Regions from separate parts of the Homo sapiens genome. Here all the other regions are linked to region 2. The links are contacts of gene promoters, found by promoter capture Hi-C in human tissues and cell types (Jung and others, 2019). All regions are on one chromosome and are shown on one strand. The core of a region is centred on a gene start or on the middle of the fragment in contact, and the rest is flanking DNA. Distances in the headings are between cores, read along the strand shown. Region 1 overlaps EIF2B1 (eukaryotic translation initiation factor 2B subunit alpha). Region 2 holds the start of DNAH10 (dynein axonemal heavy chain 10). Region 3 overlaps CCDC92 (coiled-coil domain containing 92).

Region 1 (3,747 bases), core at 219-2,718, 140 kb before region 2:
GCCAGATGCAGATTCAGCAAGTGTTTCTTGCCTCTTACAAGGCACCGCGTGTAACGTCCTGACCAGCTGTTGGTCATTTGTGGCAGAGGGGTGTGGCTGCTTTTCGCCTGCATCTCGCGTGCTTTAGGCAGATCAGTCTGGAGTGCAGGGGAGGATGAAGACAGGTGGACTTGGGCTCATCTTTCATCAGTTAAGTAGCCAATTATCTAACTTGTATTTCTGGAAACTGAAAAGGAAAGTTTCTAGAAACCGTAAGAACAATTTAAGTTGGGATTTAGAATAGCTGACACATTTTTAGATGGGACTGAAATGAGTAAGAAAGGTTCTCCAAGATGTATGATTTTAAGTCCTTACTCCATAAATCTTCATTAAACACATCTCAGTTTTGGCCTGACTCACTGGGGTGTCAAGCAGCTACTCACCCTGCCTCAACTACGTAAGCTGCACCTTGGCAGGAAAGGGCTCACAGGTTACAGATAGAGCTTGATGAGCTCATCGCTGACTGCTGAGGGTGTCAGCACGCCCAGGTCTGTAAACAGCAGAGTGATTAAGGAAGGGGCAGTGTAGTCGACCCACGGATGCTCCTCTTTGAGGTCTTGTCCAGTCTGCGCGACCTTGAGAGTGTCTGCCTTATACTGAGGAGAGAAGTACACATTAGTCGGCACTGAATATTTAGTGCTCTGACCTGGTAGGGCCTTGGTGTGAGTGATCAGTGTGCTACTTCCTGAGACTGCTCTCTGAAAATGGGAGAAACTAAGCTATGCAGGACACTAGAGACGAGGGCAGAGTTGTGGCCATGAGCCAGATCATGGCAGTGTGCTGGCTGAGAGCTGTAGTGTAACAAACTTAAATCCCATGTCCCCTCATTCTCATGCCGGATTAACTTCTCCAGACCTCTCAAGGGAAGATCGAGAGTCACAATAGAGAGCTTGCAGCGTGCCAGGGACTGTGCTAAGATTATCTTAGAATCCTCATGACCCTGTCAGATACTGCTATGCCATTTTACAGACAAGAAAACCGGTTCAGAGGTTGAAATGAAAGGACTTGCCTCAACTCGCACAGTTTGTAAGTTGTGGTGATGGGAGCTGAGCTCAGTTAAGCCCAAAGCTGGGACTTACCCACCAGCTTCGGGCTTCCTCTCCACCCATCTATGGTGCTACTTAAAGAGACTGAAAGACTGAAGTTCTAGGGACAAATGTGTGAGTCCAATCACCAATTTATCTTTGTATTCCAAGTGTTGGGGAAAGTAGCAATAGGAAGTGAAAAAATTACTGGAACATTCTTAGGACTACAATTTCCAAAGGTTTCTGTTTAGACTTTAGTACCCCTTCAAATATGTAAAACTCTTGCCTTAAACTTATCTGGGACGTCTTGCTGGTTTAGTGGAAAGAGCCGGACAAACTTGAAACTTTCTGCAACCACATAGAAAGGTTTGTTCTGTGCTTTGGCACACACAGCCATCTGGTTGGTTCCAATCTGGGAAGGCAGAAAATGGAATGGATGAGCTCTAGAGTGCATCTGAAGTAGAAGCCACAGAAAAGCGGGCCGGGCACAGTGGTGCATGCCTGTATTCCAGCATTTTGGGAGGCCGAGGTGGGTGGATCACCTGAACCCATGAGTTTGGGACCAGCCTAGGCAACACGGTGAGACCTCGTCTCAATTACAATAAAGGAACAATTAAAAAACAGCAATAGAAAGTTATGTATATAATATAGATATACATATATCTAATACATATATTAGATATATCTAATTCTGACTTTGGAATCAAAAAAATAAATGTTTCTCAAAGGATATAGAAACAGCCACTAGAGGCTGGATGTGGTGGCTCACGCCTGTAATCCCAGCACTTTGGGAGGCCGAGGTGGGTGGATCACCTGAGGTCAGGAGTTTGAGACCAGCTGGCCAATATAGGGAAACCCCATCTCTACTAAAAATACAAAAAATTAGCTGGGCATGGTGGGATGGGGGGTGCCTGTAATCCCAGCTACTAGGGAGGCTGAAGCAGGAGACTCGCTTGAACCCGGGCACTGGAGGTTGCAGTGAGCCAAGACTGTGCCATTGCACTCCAGCCTGGACAGCAAGAGTGAAACTCCATCTCAAAAAATAAAAAAATTTAAAAAAACAAGTGTTGGCAAGGATGTAGAGAAATTGGAACCTTTGTGCTTTGCTAGTGGGAATGTAAAGTAGTGCAGCTGCTGTGGAAAATCATTAGTTTCTGAAAGTTAAATATATAGTTACCATGTGACTCAACACTCTGCCTGCAGACCTCCGCCTCCCAGGTTCAAGCGATTCTCCTGCGTCAGCCTGCCAAGTAGCTGGGATTACAGGCACCCGCCACCATGCCCAGCTAATTTTTTGTATTTTTAGTAGATATGGGGTTTCACCATGTTGGCCAGGCTGGTCTCGAACTCCTGACCTCAGATGATCTACCTGCCTCAGCCTCCCAAAGTGCTGGGATTATAGGCGTGAGCTACTACGCCCGGCCTTATGTTACATATATTTTAACTAAAAAAAGCTTTCATGAAGCTTTTCTAAATTAAATAATGGAGAGAGAGATTGTAATAAATTGAGGTCAAATGTGCTCAATTAAAATGAAAACAAATGACAGGCCGGCCACAGTGGCTCATGCCTGTAATCCTAGCACTTTGGGAAGTGGAAAGATTGCTTCAGGCTAGGAGTTCAAGACTGCAGTAAGCTATGATCACTGTACTACACTACAGCCTGGGCAACAGAGTGAATGTGTCTCTATTTTAAAATATATATAATATTTATATATAAATACACGTATTTTATACATACATACTTTATATGTAAATATATAAATAATATTTTAAAAATATTTGTGTATATATATTATGTGTGTGTATATATATGCATAAATAAAACATACATATACACATAAATAAAGCAAAAACCAGACAAACCCCAATTCCAATTCAAGCCAATTTTGTATAAATATAAATTACACTTTTTTTTTTTTTTTTTTTACTGAGACAGGGTCTCACCATCGCCCAGGCTGGAATGCAGTAGTGTGATCATAACTTACTGCAACCTCAAATTCCTGGGCTCACGTGATACTCCTGCCTCAGCTTCCTGGGCAGCTGGAACTACAGGCAAGCACCACCACGCCCAGCTAATTTTTCTAATTTTTTGTAGAGACAGGGTTTCACTATGTTGCCCAGGCTGGTCTTGAACTCAAGGCCTCAAGTGATCCTCCCACCCTGGCCTCTCAAATTGCTAGGATTACAGGTATAAGGCATCACACCTGACCAAATTACATTGTCTTCATTTATGTAGATCAATCTAAAAAAGATTTGACTGAAACTGGACTGCCCATTGCTATGACTTACGGGAAATGGGCAACAACTCAATACCATGATGAAGTCCTGAAGTGAAGCAGGATTAGAAGGAACCATAATCAACACTGCTGTGGTGTCCTAGGTCAGCAAGACACCTCCAAGTCTTGAGCAGGGAACTGGGGAGAACTGATGCTCTTACCTTGTTAATAATTCCTCCGTTTTCAACAACTCCTTCAGCACCAACTATGACAAGATCTGCTTTCTCCATGATGTAGCTAAGGGGAAAAAAAGCTTTTCATGCTTTATTTTCTTGGCTCTAACGAGTAGCATCATCATCTGCAAAGATCAATATTCCATTTCTATCAAGGTAAGTTCCTCCCATAACTACCTGTTTTTTTTAAAGCGCACTTAACACGCGATAGACCCCTGGCATTGTTACCAGGGG
Region 2 (3,580 bases), core at 177-2,676:
GTCAGCATCCCCTCAGCAGTTGTTTATTTAAAAATTTTTTTATTTTTTTTGAGACAGTGTCTCACTCTGTCACCTAGGCTGAAGTGCAGTGGTGCAGTCTCGGCTCACTGCAACCTCTGCCTCCTGGGTTTAAGCAATTCTCCTGCCCTAGCCTCCCGAGTAGCTGGGATTACAGGCGCCTGCCACAGTGCCCGGCTAATTTTTGTATTTTTAGTAGAGACAGGGTTTCACCATGTTGGCCAGGCTGGTCTCAAACTCCTGACCTCAGGTGATCTACCCACCTTGGCCTCCCAAAGTGCTGGGATTACAGGCGTGAGCCACCGCGCCTGGCCCTCTGCAGTTGTTTAATAAGGCACAGAATACCTGTAGCATAGGTCAGCCTTACGATGTCCATGAATTACATATTCAGACGTTTTAGAGCCTGATACATTTTGGAAAAGAAAAACAACTTCTACACCTATTCTACAGTCCGCATTTAAAACAATAAATTCCTCTATTAAAAACGTAAAGCCGGGTTTGCTTGCGTGCCACAGGGAATATATCCAGGAAGGTTATTATGAAGCTGTCAAATCAAGATGATGGGAATAAGGCAGTTTGAACGAACAGTCTTCCCACAGTCAGGCCATTTTTGCTGATTTGGTTTAGAATTTTCAGAAATACTTAGTACACTCCACCTGTTCTTTGATGGGAATATCTAAGAAGGCTAGGTAGGTTCTTAGGGTTAGCCTGAGTCATCTAGGGGCTCAACTCCTTGTGAGGGGAAATGACAGTGAACAAGTTAGTACTTTGCTCCACAAATGCATGAAAGGACAAATTTGCATCTTCTATCAGTATTTAACTTCCTTTTGCTAATGACAAATAAATATATCTATATTTTTAAACGTGGGTGTTTTGCTTTATTATGCTCTAGTTTGGCAAGAAAGCTAAAGAACTCTGCTCCTTCCCTGATTTTGTAGGCCATGAGGAACTCGTGCTTTCTCGGCTTATTTCCTCCTCGTCTGGCCTCTAATCCCGCCTCTGCCACCGCCGAGGTGCTGTGACCTTCGTCTCGCCAACTCTCTAGCCCCAGCTTCATCTGCAAGGTGGGCGGGCTGCTTGCAAACCGGTCGGCGTGGGGTGGGGTCGCACCCTCGGCTGCAGCGGCCCGAGGGCGGCTCCTGGCGGCGAGGGTCCCGCTCCGCATCCAGGGGCGTGCGCGCTGCCGGGGCCAGGGAGCAACCAGCCTACCTCGGCGGCCCGGGGGCCTGGTGCGCGCCTCCGAGATCCCGGGGCCGGGGCGTGGGCTGCGGCTCGCGGGTTCGGGATCGAGGGGCCGGGCGCGGGGCACTGCCGAGCTTGCAGCCCCCAGCGCCGGCGCCGTCGGCGGGGCGAGCTGCGGCCGTTTCCGGGGCGCCCATTGCTAGGGCCGCCGTTGCCACGGACGCCCGCCCTGCGCCCGGCTCCCTCTGCACTGCGCGGCGCCATGGACGACCTGCGGGTGCTGTGGATGCGCGACCGCGTGTATGCGGCTTTCGGCATCACCGACCCCCAGCTTTTCGAGGACCTGCTCAACCGCGACGACGGCCAGGGCGAGGACCTCATCTTGCACTTCCTCAACCAGGCGAGCGAGGAGGAGGGGCCCTCGGCGCTCTTCATCTACCGCACTATGGTGCCGGAGGAGGTGGAGGTGGAGATTGGTGAGCCTCGACGCGCCGCTCCCTTCCCCGGGCTTCCCTCCTGCCCGTCCCGGCCTCTCCGGCGGGCGCCGGGGCTGCTAGAGCCTGCCCATCGTCCGGCCCCGGCCTCAGGTGCTGTCCACAAACGCTGCCGCCCGCCACGTGCAGGCCCCGGGCGAACCCAGCAATCACAGCCGTCCCTGCCCTCCTGGGCCCACAGCCCACTTGAAAGTCAGGCCTTGATTGAAAAATCACAGCAAACACTGACTTAGCCCGCACCCCGTGCCAGGTGCGGTTCCAACGCTTGTATCAACTCCTTAACCCTACGAGGCGGGTGTATCCTCATCCCTATTTTACAGATGAGCAAACTGGCACGGAGGGGGTTAAGTAACCTGCCCAAGGCCCACGGGGCGTCAAGATCCACTGTGCAATAATCCGAACGGCTGGGTAGAGCCATGCCCAGGTGTGGCAGGGACCCAGGTCACTGTCACTCTCCTTGACGGTCGCAGCCTCTCACGGAGGGTCCGAAGAGCACCCCTTTCTACTTCTGGAGGCTCCTTATATCCTAAAAAGTAAAATAAGGCTAGGACAAAGTTTAAAAACTACAGTAGACTTTAAATGTTTATGTTGAACAAATTAGCATCGCAAATACAAAAAGACAGTGACCAGGGTCCCAGAACCCTCTGTGGAGGCGGATCCCCAGCCCCACCTACTCTCTGATAGGCCAGGGACACTGAGAGGGCAGGGAGGGGCCAGCACAGGTGAGAGGAGGAGGCAGGACAACTCGCTTCAGAAACAGCTAGAAGGAGACTGGGACCTCGAAAGCCGCCTCCTCGCAGGAGCACCAGCTGGAGCACAGCTACCGGGACCTCCTGCCTGGCTGTCCAGTCTCCTGGGCTACTTTTCCAGCCCCTTAAGGACTTGGGGATCCCTTGCAGGGCCTCTCACTGGGTTCGGGTGGCAGGGCCGGCAGACCTTTGATTTTTTTTTTAAAGGTACCAGGCAGATTCATTTATTGTATTCTATTTTTTAACTTTTTTTTTTTTTTTTTTGAGATAGGGTCTCACTTTGTCACCCAGGCTGGAGTGCAGTGGTGCGATCTTGACTCACTGCAACCTCTGCCTCCAGGGCTCAAGTGATTCTCCCACCTCAGCTTCCTGAGTAGCTGGGACTACAGGTATGCGTCACCATGCCTGGCTAATTTTTATATTTTTGGTAGAGACAGGTTTCACCATGTTGCCCAGGGTGGTCTCAAACTACTGAGGTCAAGTGATCCTCCCGCCTCGGCCTCCCAAAGTGCTGGGATTCCAGGTGTTAGCCATCTGGCACCTGGCCACTTCTTTTTTTTTTTTTTGAGACAGAGTCTAGCTCTGTCGCCAAGGCTGGAGTGCAGTGGTGCAATCTCGGCTCACTGCAACCTCCACCTCCCTGGTTCAAGCAATTCTCCTGACTCAGCCTCCCAAGTAGCTGGGATTACAGGCACCCATCACCATGCCTGGCTGATTTTTGTATTTCTAGTAGAGACAGGGTTTCACCATGTTGGCCGGGCTGCTCTTGAACTCCTGACCTAAAGTGATCTGCCCACCTCGGCCTCCCGAAGTGCTGGGATTACAGGTGTGAACCATCGCGCTTGGCCACCTTCATTTATTTTAAATATTCATTATTTGCTTGCACAAAATAAAACGCCTTCATCATAAATCCAAAACCATAAATAAACAACAATAACAAATCCCTAGTGCCATCTGGAGAGAGGACCACGTGATCACGTTTTGGAATTTAACCTTCCAGCCTATTATTTTTTTCTCCCTGGCAGACCTTTGGACCTGAACATTAGATTATAACTGGACCTCGGATGTAGGCACTTTCATTGGCACCAAGTGAAATTATGGAAACCAAAAACACACTCGCAGGATTGACCGTTTAAC
Region 3 (3,599 bases), core at 479-2,978, 200 kb after region 2:
TTATTTATCTTTTTTTTAAAAAAAGTGTCTGTATTAACAACAAGGAGGCTATTCCAATATAACACAGAAGACTACATAAATTATTCAAGTTCTTAGTACTTTTAAAGAAAATCCTTTCATATCTATTTTTGTGAATTTGGGGGTATAAGAGAAGGTTATGTCTTCTATATGGGGGGGTGATATAAATTATTACAGTTCATTCTTTCCATAAAGGAAGCATCTTTAAGCAGCTTTGAGCCAGACACTGTGGAGGACACTCAGAACACACCAACAAATAGAAGAGATAAAAATTCTGCCTTTGTGGAGCTAATATTTGGGAGTGGGGGTGGGGCACACAATTCATACAAAAAGTAGAATTTTTTCACAAAGGCTAAATTAAATGGAACTTCCTAAATTCTTGACACTTGCCTTACAGAACAGCTCAATGACTACCTACCACCATGATTTCAGAGTAGGTGAATCTAAACCTGAGTATACAAATTACAGGGAGCTGTAATTTAAGAAACTAGTATCTTTATAAATTGCTTTTTAAAAATTCCAGACAATATTATGACAACCAAGAGTCACTCTACTTCCATTAGCTGAATAATGTTTCAAGATATCACATTTCTGCCAATTTTAAATAACAATTGCATTATTTTTTAATGTAAATTTTGTTTTCTAAAGTTCCTAATTCCCTTTGTACCAGCAGAATAGTGAGGCAATTAGTTAATAATTTATATTTACCTAAAAACTGATAAAGAAATTAAAATTCAAATGGAAAAAACATCTCGTCACCTGACAATCCCCACGGATGAGCTGCTGGGTCTTTTTTTGAATACTGGGTCTTTTTTTTAAATACTTGTTCTTAAAGCTCAAATTATGATGGTAAAATCAATTGACGTATTAGGACACCTGATATGTTTGATAACATTTGAAAACTACAATTTTAAATCGCTAAATATATTGCCAGTTAAATATACTGTTTGGAATGACGTGTGTGCTTGTACGTGTGCATCGAGATATAGTGAGGTCTATCAATAAACACTTGTGTATAACTGAGGAGACAAGACTAACCACTCACAGAAAAGCAAATTGATCTTTGGGATGCAATCTCTTCTCAATAAAGAGGAATCTTGATTCATCTTGACCTCTGTATATTCTGTCCAGAAGTCAAAGTTTATCGCTCTCACTGGAGTATGAAGTCCTGCTTTTCTTTCTCACTTTTTCCTGTCTTGACTATGGACAATTGTGAAAACAGTGAGGGCTGCACGCTCTTGGAGGAGCTTACATTTCTCACGGCCCTCATGTAACCCATGTTGGGCTGTTTTGGAAATATACTTCCTTTGGTGAATAACACGGTCAAGGTTATCTATGGTCAGTCATCTTTCTCAGACTGAACAGTCCCTTATGGTGGCTCTTTCCCACACTGTCCCTGTCCTAGATCAGGCCCCACATCGTAGAAGGGACTCTAAAGACTGTCAGGGTTTCAGAGAGCCTCTTGGTAGCTCCAAAGTGCCTTCATCTTGCTCCAGTGTCCCATGGCCTGGTACACACCAACAAGAAGGGATGCCAGGGAAAATCATATGTGGGTGGCATGCTCCAAATTTACCAGTGTAGCTCATCAGCACTGTGTGAGTTGTTTGACCCGTCCATTCATGTTGTGGGAAGTAGCCATAAAGACAACGAGAGCAGCTTATCTACGGATGGGGCTGTAGGGTGGGAGGCAGGCATTTATAAGCATATTCACATTAGTTTTATTCAAATGAGAAAAAATGGGTTTTCATGTGAATGCTTTAGTAATTTCACTGGGTATAGAAGATGCATGCAAAGGCTAACACAATGACTGTCAAAAAGACTTCTGAAATATTTTATTTCCAGATTTGGTACATTAAGTGTGTCTATTTGTAACAGGAGTCCATCATTTCCAGATTGGATTGTAAATAAAGCTGTAAAGCCCTACACATTCATCAATGCCTTCACTGTCTTGTCCACAATCAGAAGAGGTGGTAAAATGTCCAAATGGAACTCTGAAAAATAACCTAGCCAGGAATTTTCAGAAACTGGACTGAAGTGGCTGGATTCCCTACCTATAAATGTAACCATGAGAGTTGTGACAAACAAAAATCTGGGATCTTCACCTAAAAAACTGAGTAGGCTTCAGAGGCTTCTGGTTACATCCCCAATGGTAGGACATTCCATGTGAGAGGAAGCTGTGTTCTTTTGAGAAATAGCTAAGTCTTGCACACTGATGGAAAGCACTGATGAGGGTGTCAGTGCATCTCATTCCCAGGTTCACTCTGCAGTTCAGCAGTCCAAACATCACTTCAACCTTCCTTCAAGGGACTCTAAAGTTCTGCTTGCTACTAACCTGCCGAGGATTCCCAGTTTCTTCAGTAGGAACATGCTGGCCCCAACGACTTCACACCTTCTAACTAAACTCAGTTTTCCTCTAAACACAGGAATGGCTAATTTGCTGCTTTCCACTTAAATTTCAGACTCAAGATGGTCACTGCACAGGCAGGTCCCGCTGGCATCCTGAGACTACTTGGAAAGGCACTCTGCTCTAACCACAGCCTGCTAATGAGTAACATTCAGTGCAGTGTTCTAGAATTAGCCAGTCGTCATCCAAAGCTCTGAGTTCCATCCTGCAAAAAGGGATGAGACACAAGAACCTCCAAATAGACAGCTGTCAACCTATCTCCAAGGTCTCAAGTCTAGCTTTGTTTCTACTTGGATATTTATTTTGTCTCTCCCCTAAAAACCTGCCTTTGCCCTCAAACAATATGGTTTGGCTTTGTTCACCTCTGAACTGGGTCCTGATACCACAGTCTTACTGTACTAATAAACTTGTCAAAAACTGACTTGACCGCTTTATTGATGGAAAGCAATTCCTCACTTGAAATCACATTGCAGAGGCTGAGGAGGATTACACATCCTTCCTCCCCCGAGAGCAATAGGGCATGTCAATGAGCAAGTACCTTAATGCCAGAAAGCTGCTGCTCTATTCTACTAGAACGTTCTGGTCTTGTCATAGGGACTCAACCAGAAGATAAAGATGACTCAGTATCAGATACTGACCTTCCTTGAAAATGACAGGCCAAACCTAATAACTTCTGCTATGTTCTTATCTATGGGAACACAAAACTGAGCGAAAAACTCCAACCTTTCTCCATCTTTCTTATCAATGTGCAAGATTTGGCTATTTTTAAAAAGTGTATCTGCTCTCCCACGCTACTAGCCACCGAGGCAGAAACACTAGCAGTGCCTTTCATCTGGGTTGATGTGTGTGACAGCCGAAGAGAAAGGAGTTACAAAAAGCCTCCTTCAATGTTTAAGGTATGGCACGAGCCTAACCTCTTACGTTCACTTATCATTAGAAAAATATGGAGAGCCTAAGATAATTATGCTATGTATGACAGAGATGGAACTTTCTCTTGGGAACCCAGTGTTTTTACGTGTCCTCTGCATTATATCGAAGATGATCTTTTCAGAGTATGATGCCACGGATTTCTAGGTAAAATGTGCAACTTTAAGAAAGACAGTATTGTAATAATATTGAGAATGACAATTTACATGTAGTGTTTAATGCTTAAACAATGTTACCTAAGAACATGGGC

The links. Contacts are between HindIII fragments. The study calls those that stand out against the background at their distance.
Region 1: a contact is called between a fragment that was not itself captured here and the fragment with the promoter of DNAH10 in region 2, in 2 of the 25 tissues and cell types used here (H1 embryonic stem cells and lymphoblastoid cells).
Region 3: a contact is called between a fragment that was not itself captured here and the fragment with the promoter of DNAH10 in region 2, in 1 of the 25 tissues and cell types used here (H1 embryonic stem cells).

Annotation. Positions count from the first base shown.
Region 1 is chr12:123,621,286-123,625,032 of GRCh38, forward strand. It overlaps EIF2B1 (eukaryotic translation initiation factor 2B subunit alpha), which reads right to left. Exons shown (of 9, transcript NM_001414.4): 7 at 3,502-3,577; 8 at 1,351-1,476; 9 at 1-635. The coding sequence ends at 471. Among named protein-coding and RNA genes, the nearest start is that of SNORA9B, 6.4 kb to the left of the region's middle. RefSeq lists an enhancer at 92-1,291. The HindIII fragment of the contact is 7,939 bases long and covers 1-3,747 here.
Region 2 is chr12:123,760,875-123,764,454 of GRCh38, forward strand. DNAH10 (dynein axonemal heavy chain 10) reads left to right here and starts at 1,427. Exons shown (of 79, transcript NM_001372106.1): 1 at 1,427-1,676. The coding sequence starts at 1,463. ATP6V0A2 (ATPase H+ transporting V0 subunit a2) reads left to right here. Exons shown (of 20, transcript NM_012463.4): 20 at 1-881. RefSeq lists a silencer at 1,008-1,427. The HindIII fragment of the contact is 16,796 bases long and covers 1-3,580 here.
Region 3 is chr12:123,964,241-123,967,839 of GRCh38, forward strand. All of the region lies in intron 1 of CCDC92 (coiled-coil domain containing 92), which reads right to left. Among named protein-coding and RNA genes, the nearest start is that of CCDC92, 6.8 kb to the right of the region's middle. The HindIII fragment of the contact is 5,683 bases long and covers 1-3,599 here.